2 separate regions of the Homo sapiens genome follow, and region 1 is linked to region 2. The links are contacts of gene promoters, found by promoter capture Hi-C in blood cells and fetal thymus (Javierre and others, 2016). All regions are on one chromosome and are shown on one strand. Each heading gives the region's core, a stretch centred on a gene start or on the middle of the fragment in contact. The rest is flanking DNA. Distances are from core to core; before and after follow the strand shown.

What was found. The method cuts DNA at HindIII sites, captures the fragments that hold promoters and counts their contacts. A CHiCAGO score of 5 or more calls a contact.
Region 1: a contact is called between a fragment that was not itself captured here and the fragment with the promoter of RAPGEFL1 in region 2, in 1 of 17 cell types (erythroblasts). The highest score is 5.3, in erythroblasts.

The regions. Positions count from the first base shown.
Region 1 is chr17:40,261,164-40,267,558 of GRCh38, reverse strand. WIPF2 (WAS/WASL interacting protein family member 2) reads right to left here. Exons shown (of 8, transcript NM_133264.5): 4 at 4,918-5,034; 5 at 2,413-3,069. Among named protein-coding and RNA genes, the nearest start is that of CDC6, 24 kb to the left of the region's middle. The HindIII fragment of the contact is 2,914 bases long and covers 2,037-4,950 here.
Region 2 is chr17:40,175,441-40,182,015 of GRCh38, reverse strand. RAPGEFL1 (Rap guanine nucleotide exchange factor like 1) reads right to left here and starts at 4,546. Exons shown (of 15, transcript NM_016339.6): 1 at 3,635-4,546; 2 at 322-400. The coding sequence starts at 4,154. RefSeq lists enhancers at 2,563-3,417, 3,418-4,274, 4,666-5,166, 5,167-5,667 and a silencer at 4,505-4,634. The HindIII fragment of the contact is 3,169 bases long and covers 2,460-5,628 here.

The sequences.
Region 1 (6,395 bases), core at 2,244-4,743, 87 kb before region 2:
CAAAACACAAACAAACAAATAAATAAATAAAGGCCAAGAAGCTGTTTGTGGAGGGTATGTCTCAAAGTCTAATGATACAACGATATGGGAGCCAAAATTCCCATGTCCAATAAGGCCCCAGAGAGCTGTCACGGTCTCCCTCACTCTAAAATTTCAGTTATGCTAATTATAACGAGATTACACAACCTCTTCTTTTTCCAGGGTTCCTAAATTCCCTCCTCACCCAGCTTAGGCTCCATTATTGCAATCACTCCCTCACATACACCCTTCCCTTCCTGCCCCACTCTCCCTTAGAGTCGCACATGCCTAAAACATGCTAACGCTGGTTAAACACAGCTCTACTCTTTTTCTGTACCTGCAAATCACAACTGAACACATGAGACTAATTAATCTCACATGAAATGTATGGCCCATAATCTCAAGTGGGCCCTTCGCGTGGTTGCCTATCTGAGCACACTTCCCTAGTCCACCCACACTCCCACGCTCCAGATGACCATTTCATGCCTCTTCTCTCTCCTCAACTCTCCTTCTCCTTCCCTCGCCTCAATCACAGCTGATGCTCTTGCTTTCCATTTCACTGAGAAAACAGAAGCAAATTAGAATAAACTTTCCACATGCTTCTACCACTACACCCACCTACCCACTTGCTTCTAAGCCTATATGCTCTGCCTCCCCTCTTGTTACTATGGAAGAACTATGTTCCTATCTAAGGCCAACCCTTTTTATCTATCGATCACATTCTCTTTTCTCTGGCCTCCTCCAGGTCATTATTCAGGCAATCTGTTCCCTCTCTTCTGATTCAATTTTTTCCCTCTCTCCTAAGTTTCATGCTACTCATTCCATCAGCATACAAATAGGTCTCCCATCTTGGGATGGGAAAAAAACAACTCTCAACCCCACATCTTCGTCCAACAATCACTTCACTTATCTTCACCCCTCTCTCCTGGACTTTACAGCGAACTCTTTAAGAGATTTCTATATTGCTATCTCCAATTTCTCTCCTCCTATTCCTGCATTCTTGAACCCACTCCAATTAAGCTTTCACTTTCACCCTCCACCACTCCACTGAAACTACTCAAAAGGGTCCCATGATACTAAGACCAATGCCAGTTCTTGGTCTTTAACTTACCTGACCCATCTGCAGCACTGGGCACAGCTGACCACTTACTCTACCTTGGAGTTTTTCCATCACATTCTTGGTTTTTCTCCTTCCATCCTCACTAGAAGCTTTTCTGTTTCCTCTGCTGGGTATTCTTCATCTCTTTTGCCTCTAATGTAGGAGGGCGAGGGCTCAGCCCTCATTTTTTTTTTTTTTTTTTTTGAGATGGACTGTCACTCTGTCGCCCAGGCTGGAGTGCAGTGGCGTGATCTCGGCTCACTGCAACCTCTGCCTCCTGAGTTCAAGCGATTCTCCTGCCTCAGCCTCCTAGGCCTCTTCTTATCTATATTCACTCCTTAGGTGACTTCATCCAGCATGTGGTTTTCAACACCATTCAAATGTATCTCTCTAGCCGAAACCTCTCCCCTCAACTTTGGAGTCTGATAGCCAATTACCAATTCATTGTCTCTTCTTGATTACCTAACAGGCATCTCAAACTTGTCTCAAACTGAACACCTATCTTCCCACAAATTCACAGTAGTCCTAACCATCTGGCCGTTTACTGCAACAGCCCAGTAACTGGTCTCCTTTTGTCACCTTTGTCCTCCTGCGGTCTGTTCTCAACATAGGAGTTAATGATCTTTTTAAAAGGTGAATCAAATCATACTACTTCTCTGTTTAAAACCCTCCAGTGGCTTCCCATCTCACACAGTTAAATCCAAGGTCTTTGCAAAATCCTGCAGTGCGCTCTCCCCTGCAGCTCCAGCTTTCCAACCTCCAAGTCCTACCACTCTTCCCTCCCCTCACTCTTTGTAGTCTTGCCACAATGGCCCCCTTGCTGTCCCCAAAATGTTTCAAGAATACTTCTGCCTTATGGCCTCTGCATTTGTTGTTCCCACTGCCTGCAACAGCTGTTCTCCTAGATAACTACTAAGCTTACTCGTCACTTTCTTAAGGTCTTTGTCAAATTTTCACCGTATCAGTAAGGACTGTCCTGACTCTCTCCCCACTCCTCCAATTAAAGATATCATCATCCCGACCTCCGCCCCAGTATATCTTATTCCTCTCCTCTGCTTTGTAATTCTCTAAAGCATACTGCATACTATGTATTTATATATTTTACTAGTTTGACTGTCAAATTTTTTTGTCTTTTCTATTTATTGCTATTTCCCTACCAACAGACCTGACACATAAAAAGGTACTCAATAAACCCACTGAGTGAATAAACGAATTACTGTCTTCAAGGAGTGCTCTGGGGAAAGATAAAATCAACTCACAGCATGATAGGGAAAAAGGTGCTTCCAAGCACTTACCTGCTCCCCGACTGGGAGGGTCTCGGGCTGGGGGAGGTGGCCTATTACTCAGTAAAGATGGGGAGGCCGAGGTGGGTGGAGGAGGTGCTAGGCCTCTGACAGGCCCTGGTGTCTTCCTATGCAAAGAATTGTGTCTCTGTGGCAGCTCAGGGGCTGACTCATTAGTGGGGCTAGAGGGTCCATTGGGGACCCCAGGAGGCTGGCGGTAAGGCGGAGGAGGAGGAGCCAGAGACTGGCCACTTGGTCCTGTTCTGATATTCACAGGGGAAGGAGGTGGTTTGACTGGGGGTGGAGCAGGAGGTCCCTCTCGACCAGGGTGAAGCCTTTGTCCAGGCGTCGGTGGCAAGGGTTTCTCTCTGTTGTAGGCGGGGGCTTTGCTGCTGTGCATAGGCAGAGGTGTGGGGGGTGCGTTGGCACGCCGCCCTGGGGGTGGTGGGGGAGGGGCAGAGGAGCTGTGCTTCATGCCCGTACTGCTGGTGGTATTAGGCCGAGAGAGGTCCGGTAAAGAGGGTCTCTGCATCCGGGGCAGTTCTGGGAGTGAGGCCCGGCTGCTGTCTGTATCATCCTGAGGACGCCCGCTGGCGGCAGATACTGGAGGCCTTGGGGCAGCAGCTCGAGAACTGGGGATTTGCAGGGCTGGCTTACCAGCTAGGTTCTCTACAAATACATAGACAACACAGGGTCAACAGAGCTGGACAGATATTGGTCAGTATCCCTACTTCACTCGGCTCCTTAGTGCAACCTGCATGGCAGCAGGGAAAGGAATTGAATAATTCTGGGTTTTTTGTTTTTCTTTTTTTTTTTTTTTTTTTTTTTTTTTGAGACGAAGTTTCGCTGTTGTTGCCTAGGCTGGAGTGCAATGGTGCAATCTCAGCTCACTGCAACCTCTGGGTTCAAGTGATTCTCCTGCCTCAGCCTCCCGAGTAGCTGGGATTACAGGTGTGCGCCACCACACCTGGCTGATTTTTGTATTTTTAGTAGAGATGGGGTTTCACCACGTTGGACAGGCTGGTCTCGAAATCCCAACCTCAGGTGATCTGCCCACCTCGGCTTCCCAAAGTGATGGGATTACAGGCGTGAGCCACCACGTCCGGCCTAGTTCTGGGTTTTAATACGGTTTCAGGCTCAGGATACACTGTTATTTATTTTAAATGTTACTTTATTTTTGACAAGTAATAATTTTATGTATTTATGGGGTACAATGTCTCGTTATATGTATACGTTGTGGAATGATTAAATCAAACTAACATATCCATCACCTCACATATTTTTTTTAATGGTGAAAACACTTAAAATCTACTCTACAACAGGCGCAGTGGCTCATGCCTGTAATCCCAGCACTTTGGGAGGCCAAGGTGGACAGATCACTTGAGGTCAGAAGTTTGAGACCAGCCTGGCCAACATGGTGAAACCCCGTCTCTACTAAAACTACAAAAATTAGCCAGGTGTGGTGGCCTGTGCCTGTAATCCCAGCTACTTGGGAGGCTGAGGCAGGAGAATGGCTTGAACCCAGGAGGCGGAAGTTGCAGTGAGCCAAGATGGCACCACTGCACTCCAGCCTGGGCGACAGAGCAAGACTCCATTTGCGGGGGGGGGGGGGACGAATAAATAAAATAAAATAAAATAAAATATACTCTTTTAGCAATTTTGAAATATACATTAAGTATAATAAGGGGTCGCCAACCCCTGGGGCCATGCACCTGTACAGGTCAGTGGCCTGTTAGGAACAGGGCACACAGAAGGTGAGCGAGCAAGCATTACTGCCTGAGCAACGCCTACTGTCAGACCAGCAGCAGCATTAGATTCTCATAGGAGGGCGAACCCCATTGTGAACCGTGCATGTGAGGGATCTAGGTTGCATGCCCCTTATGAGACTCTAACTAATGCCTGATGATCTAAGGTGGAACAGTTTCATCCTGAAACCATCCCCCGCCCACCATCTATGGAAAAATTGTCTTCCATGAAACCAGTCCCTGGTGCCAAAAAAACTGGGGACTGCTGCAATAGATCACTAAAACTTACCCCTCCTGTCTAACTGAAACTTTGTACCCTTTGACCAACATCTCCCCTTTCCCAATCCCAACGCCTACTGCCCCCAGCCTCTAGTAACCAACATTTCACTCTCTACTTCTACGAGTGAGTTCAACTGTTTCAGATCCCACATATAAATGAGATCATGCAGTATTTGTGTTTTTGTGCCTGGCTTATTTCACTTAGTATAATGTCCTCCAAGTTCATCCATATTATCAGAAATGACAGAAGTTTCCTTCTTGCCTAAGGCTGAATAGTATTCTAGGGTATATATGCCACATTTTCTTTATCCAAGTTGCATCCACTTTCATTTAATCCCTCAGCTTTTGCTGTATTCTATTCTATAACTCCTCCCCTACTCCCAAGTCTTTCTTCCCCCCACCTCTACCATACTCCTCAACCTGAGATGGCCCACTTGGGACATCAGAAATTAACACACCAGGGAAATACCCTGGGAAAGTACTCATCAGATACCTGAACCATCCTTGGCTCCCACAGGTCGAAGCTTCAGCACTCCTCCTTGGAAGAGACCTCCCTTGGGCTGCAGGGCAGCTCCTCCAGAGCCATAGCCACCACTGCTTCCTTTCGGCTCTGGAAAGCATACCAGTAGGGTTTTCATTTCACATGCTCTCAGCTGGTGACCAAGTAAATCATGAGGGGAAACCACTCCTCTATCTGGGCTATCGCTTGCAAACAAACCAGTCTTGTTTTTGCCCTTCTATTTAAAAAAGCAGGCCTGGTACAGTGGCTCATGCTGCTAATCCCAGCATTTTGGGAGGCCAAGATGGGAGGATCACTTAAGCTCAGGAGTTCGAGAGCAGCCTAGGCAATATAGTAGGACCTGACTCTACAAAAAATTTCAAAAATTACCCAGGCATGGTGATGCATGCCTATATAGTCCCAGCTACTCGGGAGGCTGAGATGGGAGGCTCGATTGAGCCTGGGAGGTCGAGGCTGCAGTGAACTGTGATCGTACCACTGCACTCCAGCCTGAGCAACAGACAGAGCAAGACCCTGTTTCAAAAAAAAAAAAAAAAAGAGAAAAGAAAAGAAAAGAAAGGAAAGCTAGGCCTCTCTGCTCCACAGCTTTGTGTAGGGATGAAACTCTGTTGTGATGAAAGAGAAAGAACGAGTGAAGCCAGGCGTGGTGGCTCACGCCTGTAATCCCAGCACTTTGGGAGGCGGAGGCGGAGGCGGGCGGATCATGAGGTCAGGAGATGGAGACCACAGTGAAACCCCATCTCTACTAAAAATACAAAAAATTAGCCGGGTGCGGTGGCAGGTGCCTGTAGTCCCAGCTACTCGGGAGGCTGAGGCAGGAGAATGGCATGAACCCAGAAGGTGGAGCTTGCAGTGAGCCAAGATCGCGCCACTGCACTCCAGCCTGGGTGACAGAGTGAGATTCTGTCTCCAAAAAAAAAAAACAAAAAAAACCAAAAAAAAAAAACAACAACAACAAGTGGCCGATCTTCCTTTATTCAGGGCAAAGGGATAAGGGGGTTAAATAAATGTTTGGGGGGCCAGGCACAGTGGCTCATGCCTGTAATCCCAGCACTTTGAGAGGCTGAGCAGGTGGATCACCTGAGGTCAGGAGGTCAAGACCAGCCTGGCCAACATGGTGAAACCCCGTCTCTACTAAAAATACAAAAAATTAGCCAGGCGTGGTGGCACGTGCCTATAATCCCAACTACTTGGCAGGCTGAGGCATAAGAACCACCTGAACCTGGGAGGCGGAGGTTGCAGTAAGTGAGCTGAAACCGTGCCACTGCACTCCAGCCTGGGCAACAAGAGCAAAACTCAGTCTTTAAAAAAAAAAAAAGAAATGTTCAACATAGTTATCTGGGCTCTTCTCTCCACATCTCAGATGACAGATAGAAGGCTAAAGAATCAGGGACCAATACGTGAGCACTCTCCAGAGGCCTACAGGAATGGACACTTGTAGCAATCATAAA
Region 2 (6,575 bases), core at 3,297-5,796:
TGCCTCCCGGGTTCAAGTGATTCTCCTGCCTCAGCCTCCCAAGTAGCTGAGATTACAGGTGCGTGGCACCATGCCTGGCTAATTTTTTCTATTTTTAGTAGAGATGGTGTTTCACTATGTTAGCCTGGCTGGTCTTGATCTCCTGACCTCAGGTGATCCGCCTGCCTCAGCCTCCCAAAGTGCTGGGATTACAGGTGTGAGCCACTGCACTCGGCCCCAGGTATGTTTCCTAGGGGAGAGTTTAGGCTCTGAGATTGCATGTGGGACGGAGGGAGTGGCTCCCTTCTGACCTCTCCTTTTCCAAACTCCACAAAAGGATATTACTGGTGTAGCTCCTGCAGAAATTTCTCCGTCGGGAGGAAGAGAGAATGGGTAAGGACAATGTCATCCAGCAGGATATCTGTAAAGATCAGTGGGCACCACAGATGTCAGGTGGGCACTTCCAGAACGAAACTGGAAATGCAGTGCCTCCCTCTCTTGCCCCTAAGGGCAAGTTCTCTTTAGCCAGGCTGGAGCCCCAGCCACCTGCCTTGTCATGCTCTGCACACGCGCACACATACATGTGTAAAGGTTCTGGGCAGCCACTGCGAGGGTGGGTTCGGCAGCTGCCAAGGCAGCTGAAGGGAAGGGGGGGGCGCGTGCCTTTGATGGCCATGTGCACTTCTCTTCAGCGTATGTGGGAAGTTGGTCAGATAACACACCAAGGTTGAGTTCTGCCTGAAAAAAGAAGTAGCCCACAGAAGTGTCTCCAGACAAAGAGTATTTCCAAACACAGAGGTTAGCATCAGTGGGGACTGTGTGTGTGCATGTGTGTGTATCCCTCTTCCCCTCCCCATTTCCCACCTAACAGCTTTGAGTTCTAACTAGGCAGGTGGGAACCAGCCTGATTAAAAGGGAGATGGAGAGACTGCCATCACTTTGATCCCAGAACCTTTAAATAGAAATCCTGTGTCCTTTAGGGGCCCAGAGACAGAAGGGTTAATGATGGAATGGTGAAGGGGAGCGGCTCCTCTCACCACCCCTTTCCCCTCCACACCCCCGTCTGGGCCTGGCTCAGCCAGTCAGCCGGGTACAAGGTCGCCCTGACTTGCAGCCAGCCCTGGGGTGGGGCAGGGCCACCTGGCACACACAGACAGACAAGGTGCAGGGAGGGAGCCAGGTGTCCTCACCAGGACTGGTTAGGGCCAGGTCCCCAGGCACTGTCCCAGGACAAAACCAAGGCTTCTGACTCCCCTTGGTTCACTATCTCCTGTGGTCAGTTCTAGCCATGCAGGCGGAGGAGGAAAACCAACACAAAGTAATTGACTTCAAGGATTTCATTTCGCAAATGTGAAACTGAGGCCCAGAGCTGGGAGGGACTTGCCTGGAGCTGGAATAAGAACCCAGAATCCTGAGTCTTTGTCCTTTTCTCAATATGCCTGAGGCAAGCAGAGTGTTAGGGTAAAACCTAGCGGTCAGAGGGGGCTGCTTGGACGTTGGAGAGGCTTTGGTAGGTTCAGAGTAACTTCTGTAAGTTCTCTCCTCCCACACACCCTGGGAGGAGACCAGGATGACTTGAGAACATTGGTTTTATTGGAGAACATCAGAGTGGCAGGTTAAGCTGATTCTCATTCACCTGGGACTGGTTTGGAATTTCCCAAACTAGTTACTCTGGGGATCCAGGCTGCCAGATAACATGGGTGACATTTCAGGAGTCTTACCCCAGGGGAGAATGAGCGGAGCGTGTGGCACCAGGCCCCTGTAAAAGGGGAAAGACAGCTTCTCCCTTTTCCTCCCTGCCCAGCTACCCTGCTGTGTTCTTACAATGAGTCAGAGAGCCTCCAGCTCTGACCCCCAGCTTCAGGGATGAGGGTGAGGAAACGAGAGGCCTGACATCCTTCATAGACTTTATCTCACAGGATTCCTAAGCTGGAGCAAAGGAAGAGTAAGATGGGGCAGAGTTGGGGAGATGCTGATATGGGGGCCACAGTTGGGCATCTGTCTTTTCCAAAGCAGGCTCTGGGCCAATGTACAGCCTCCCTAGGGAATGTGTCATAGAGACACAGGGTGTGTGGTGTAGGCGGGAAGTTATGGTTAGGAGAGCTGTGTGTGTCTGATATTTTTCTAATTAAATCCAAAAGGTGTCAGCTCCCCAGGGCAACTACAGCCTGCTCCAAAGGAGAGGACCCAGGTCTTGAGAAGGATCTAGGAGAGTGGAGCCCCCCTCCACACATCTAGGTTGGGGTTCCCTGCCGAGGGCTGAGAGCAAGTGTGAAAGCCCTCACCATTAGGGCCTCAGCCGGGGCTCCCAAACCTCAGACCCTCCTGGGCTTAGAGTAATGCCTAGAGCTAGACCTAAAGAACCCTCGGTCTTCTACCTCAGAACTAACCAGATTTGGGGCCTTGGTTTCCTCAAAGGCCCCTTAGTAGGGGTGCTGAAAGGGAGTGGTGAAATAGTATCATCATTTAGGGAATAAGCTTCTCAGGGTGTGGTGATTATATTTTAAAGAGGCCGTGTGCCAGGTCCGGTGGCTCACGCCTGTAATCCCAGCACTTTGGGAGGCCGTGGGGTGGGGGTGGGGGGAGGTAGATAACGAGGTCAGGAGTTCAAGACCAGCCTGACCAAGTTGGTGAAACCCCGAAACCCCGTCTCTACTAAAACTACAAAAATTAGCCAGGCCAGTGGCTCACGCCTGTAATCCCAGCACTTTGGGAGGCCAAGGCAGGTGGATCACGAGGTCAGGAGTTCGAGACCATCCTGGCTAACACGGTGAAACCCCTGTCTCTACTAAAAATACAAAAATTAGCCAGGCGTGGTGCCACATGCCTGTAGTCCCAGCTACTCAGGAGGCTGAGGCAGGAGAATCGCTTGAACCTGGGCGGTGGAGGTTGCAGTGAGCTGAGATGGCGCCACTGCACTCCAGCCTGGGTGACAGTGAGACTACATCTCCAAAAGAAAAAAAAAAAAAAGCCGGGTGCTGAGGCCTGCCACCGAAGGGTGGAAGCTGGAGGCGCTTGGACACCCTGGATGCTGCAGGGCCATGATGCCGGCCCAGCCACCTCTCCCCTCCCAGACACCTTCTGAGTCCAGCCCAAGGAGAATACTATCCCCCCCACCAAACTGCTAAGGACAACGCATCCCTTTGCTGATGCCTAAAAGGCAGCTTGGGGCCTGTGCCTGTCTGGCACTGCCTCCCTGGGTGGGTCAGCCTGCGCTGTGTAGGCCTCTGAACAGTCAGGGACCCCAGGGTTTTCAGGGCTAAAGCACCTCTGGCGGGTGGCATGGCTGCGCTGGGCAGCTCCCATTTTAATGTGTCAGGCCCTAATTTGGGGCCACAGGAGGAGGTATTCAACATCAGGGACCCATGGGAGTCAGTGGCTCCAATGCCCAGGGGAAAGGAAGGGTGGCTGAAGGAGAGTAAGAGGCTCAGCTGCTTCTCCAGACGAGGGTGAGGCTGCTGTAGGGAGGAAGGTGAGTACTGCTCTCCTCTTCCGCGGGAGGGTCTGTACCTCCGCTAGGCCCCTAGCCGGCTTCCGCGGACCACTCAACCCTATAACCAAGCCCCGGCACGGCGCCACCCCTACGCTCCAAGGGCAAGGAAGAGGAGCCGGGGCCAGCCCCTGCTCTGGGTGTTCGAGCCCACCGGCTCCTTACCTGAGGCGGCGCTGTCCCTGGTAGCCCCTCCAGCAAGCCGCTCCAGAACCCGGTTCAGAAGATGCTCGGGCCGCTCGGGGGCGCCCAGAGGGGCCCAGGGCGGCGAAGTCAAGGGCTCGCCTGGGGACAGCTCGTCAGATGAGTAGGAGGAAGGGGAGCGCAGGGGCCCCCCTCCCCCGAGAGGCCCGGGCCCCGGCACCTCCTCCAGCTGCAGCCAGCAGGGCCCCCCGCTGCCCGGCTCCTCCGCGACCCCCGCCGGCTCTCCTCCTTCCTCCTCAGGGGGCGGCTCCAGCCCCGGCTCGGCGGGGGGCTCCCGGAGGAAAGCGGGGAGCAGCAGGCGAGACACGCTCTGACGCCGCTGCAACGACCGCTGTCCCCCGGCTGGACCGCCGCCCCCGCCGGGTCCCCCACCCCCTCCAGGCCCACCGCAGCTCCCCAGACCCCCGCCGGGACCTCCCGCCACCGTTCGGCCCGCCAGCTGCGACGTCTGCTTCTTCAGAAATTTCTCCAGCGGCTTCATGCCCCCCCCCGCCCCTCTCCTAGGGGTCGCCGGGGGACCCAGGTATCCCAGGCGCGGGCGGGGGGGGCGGCGAAGACACGATGCTCAGAGCTGGAGGAGCAGAGTAGAGGGCCGTGCCAGGCGCCAGACTGGGGGCCAGAGGGGCCGAGCCTCGCTGGCCAGAGTCCAGTGGCCAGTAGCCGGGGGAGGTGCCAGAGGAAAGGAGTGCTCGCTCTCAGCAACCCCCCATGCCGGCTGCAGCCGGCACGCGGCCCGAAGAGTGGGCAGGCTGCGGGGCCGGTGCGCCCGGCTCTGCGCTGCGGCGGCAGAGGCAGCGGGCGGAGCGCAAGGCTGAGAGGACGCGGCGGCGGCGGCGGCGGCGGCTGCGCTCCTGGCCGTGAAGAGGGGGAAGGTGGCAGAACCGAGACCGCGCCCCCTCCTCCAGTCCCCGCCCAGTCCCCGCCCCTACCCTTCCTCGGCTCGCCCCCGCGCCGCACGAGGCTTGAACTCGCGCGCTGGGGTTGACCGCGAGGGAAACAGTAAGGGACTTGGGTTCTAAGCAGAAGAAATTAAGGGCAAAGGTAAGTCAGAGATTTACCAATGGGGAAGGATTCCTGGCTCAAGGGATAACCGGGTCTCAGCATCATTTCAAAGAGTCAGGACAGGTCTGTGGCCTGGACACCTTCACTCACCTACCTGTGTACCCAAGTCAGGCCTACAGATTGCTGAACCCAAGAGTGTGCACCTTTCTCATACTCACAGAAATATGTGGAGTTTATCTTCCTTCTGTGAGAAGAGCTGGGAAGGCCTCTTGGGTGAATTAGCATTGCCACTGGAGGCGGTGCCCATCTGTCCTCTCTGGTAGGGCACAATAGGTGGTGTGGGCCTGGTCTGTGGGCAGGTACTGGCAGGCAGGTAGGAGCCAGGCAGGGAGCAGCAGGTTGTGGCAGGTCTAGCTGGGGTGAGGAGGGGATAATAGGCAGTGGGGAGGAGACCAGGAGCACAAGGGCACCTGAGCCCAGCTGGCAGCAGAAGGAAGCAGGGCCATGGAGACAGGTGACAAGCCCCAGAACTGCCGACTATCATCAAGCACAGAGCCCAAGTGTACATGGCCATGGAGTGGGAAAAGTGGTGCCAATTAGCACTCCAAGTAATCCTTACTCCTGATGCCCACACCAGGAGCATTCTGTCCTTAAGGATATGCTGCCCCAGAAGGAGTGTGGGGGAGGAGGGGGGTGCATCGTAAAGCCATGCTAAGTGTGAGAACATCCAGGTTAGACTTACAAGGTGTGGGAGTGGCAGCAGGTTCTCGATGGGTTGAGGCTCTCTGGACAATGCCCCACCCCTGTTTACCGAGCACCAACCAGGCAGAGACAGGAATGCTAATGGCTGGGAGTGGTAGTAAAACTGAACAGGGTGTGTATGACATACGTATCAATGTATGTGCATATCTGTTCCCATGTGTGCTAGAGCATGTGTTCACAGAAATAAAGCTTTGCACACCCATCTGTTTGTGGATTTGGAAACAGTAAAAAGAAGACAGCGCACAATTTTGGCTAAGAAGCTGTATTAGAGGTCTGAGTATCAGCTTCCTGTGCTCCCCTTATTGGACACTCCAATATCCCCTGGCTTGAAAGGGGAAAGTGGCTGGAATGGGTTGGAGCTCCCCAGGTAGCATTTTATGAACTGAATAGGAAGAGGGAAGGGCTTCTCTCCCAGCACATGCCACAGTTACCAGATTAAGCCGGTTGCCTTGGTAACCTTCTCTCTGGGCAGGATTTGGGAATTGTTGGTTAGGAAGGGCGAATTGGGGAGTGTGAAGGGTGTAGGGGGTTGAAAATAAAACAGACTGAGAGACTTCTGGAAGCTAGAAGCTTGGGACACAGGACCCCAGTACTCCCCCAAATGCTCAAGGATGTCAGGCAGAGACTAAGTTCAACATTTTGAATCAGTGAGGAGAGCCAGCATCAAGTCATGGTCCTCCTGGAGTGGCAGTGGTTTTCACCCTGACTACACACTGGAATCACAGGGAAGCTTCTCAGAAATACTGATGCTGGCTGGGCTTGGTGGCTCACGCCTGTAATCTCAACACTTTGGGAAGCCAAGGCGGGCAGATCACTTGAGGTCATGAGTTCAAGACCAGCCTGACCAACATGGTGAAACCCCACTTCTAAAAATACAAAAAAAATTAGCCGGGCATGGTGGCACACACCTGTAATCCAAGCTACTTTGGAGGCTGAGGTAGAAGGATTGCTTGAACCTGGGAGGTGAAGGTTGCAGTGAGCTGTTATCATGCCACTGCACTCCAGCCTGGGTGAGAGACTCCATATTAAAAAAAAAAAAAAAATACTGGCCAAGTGCAACAGCTCACGCCTATAATCCCGGTACTTTGGGAGGCCGAGAAGGGTGCAACATGAGGTCAGAAGTTCGAGACCAGTCTGG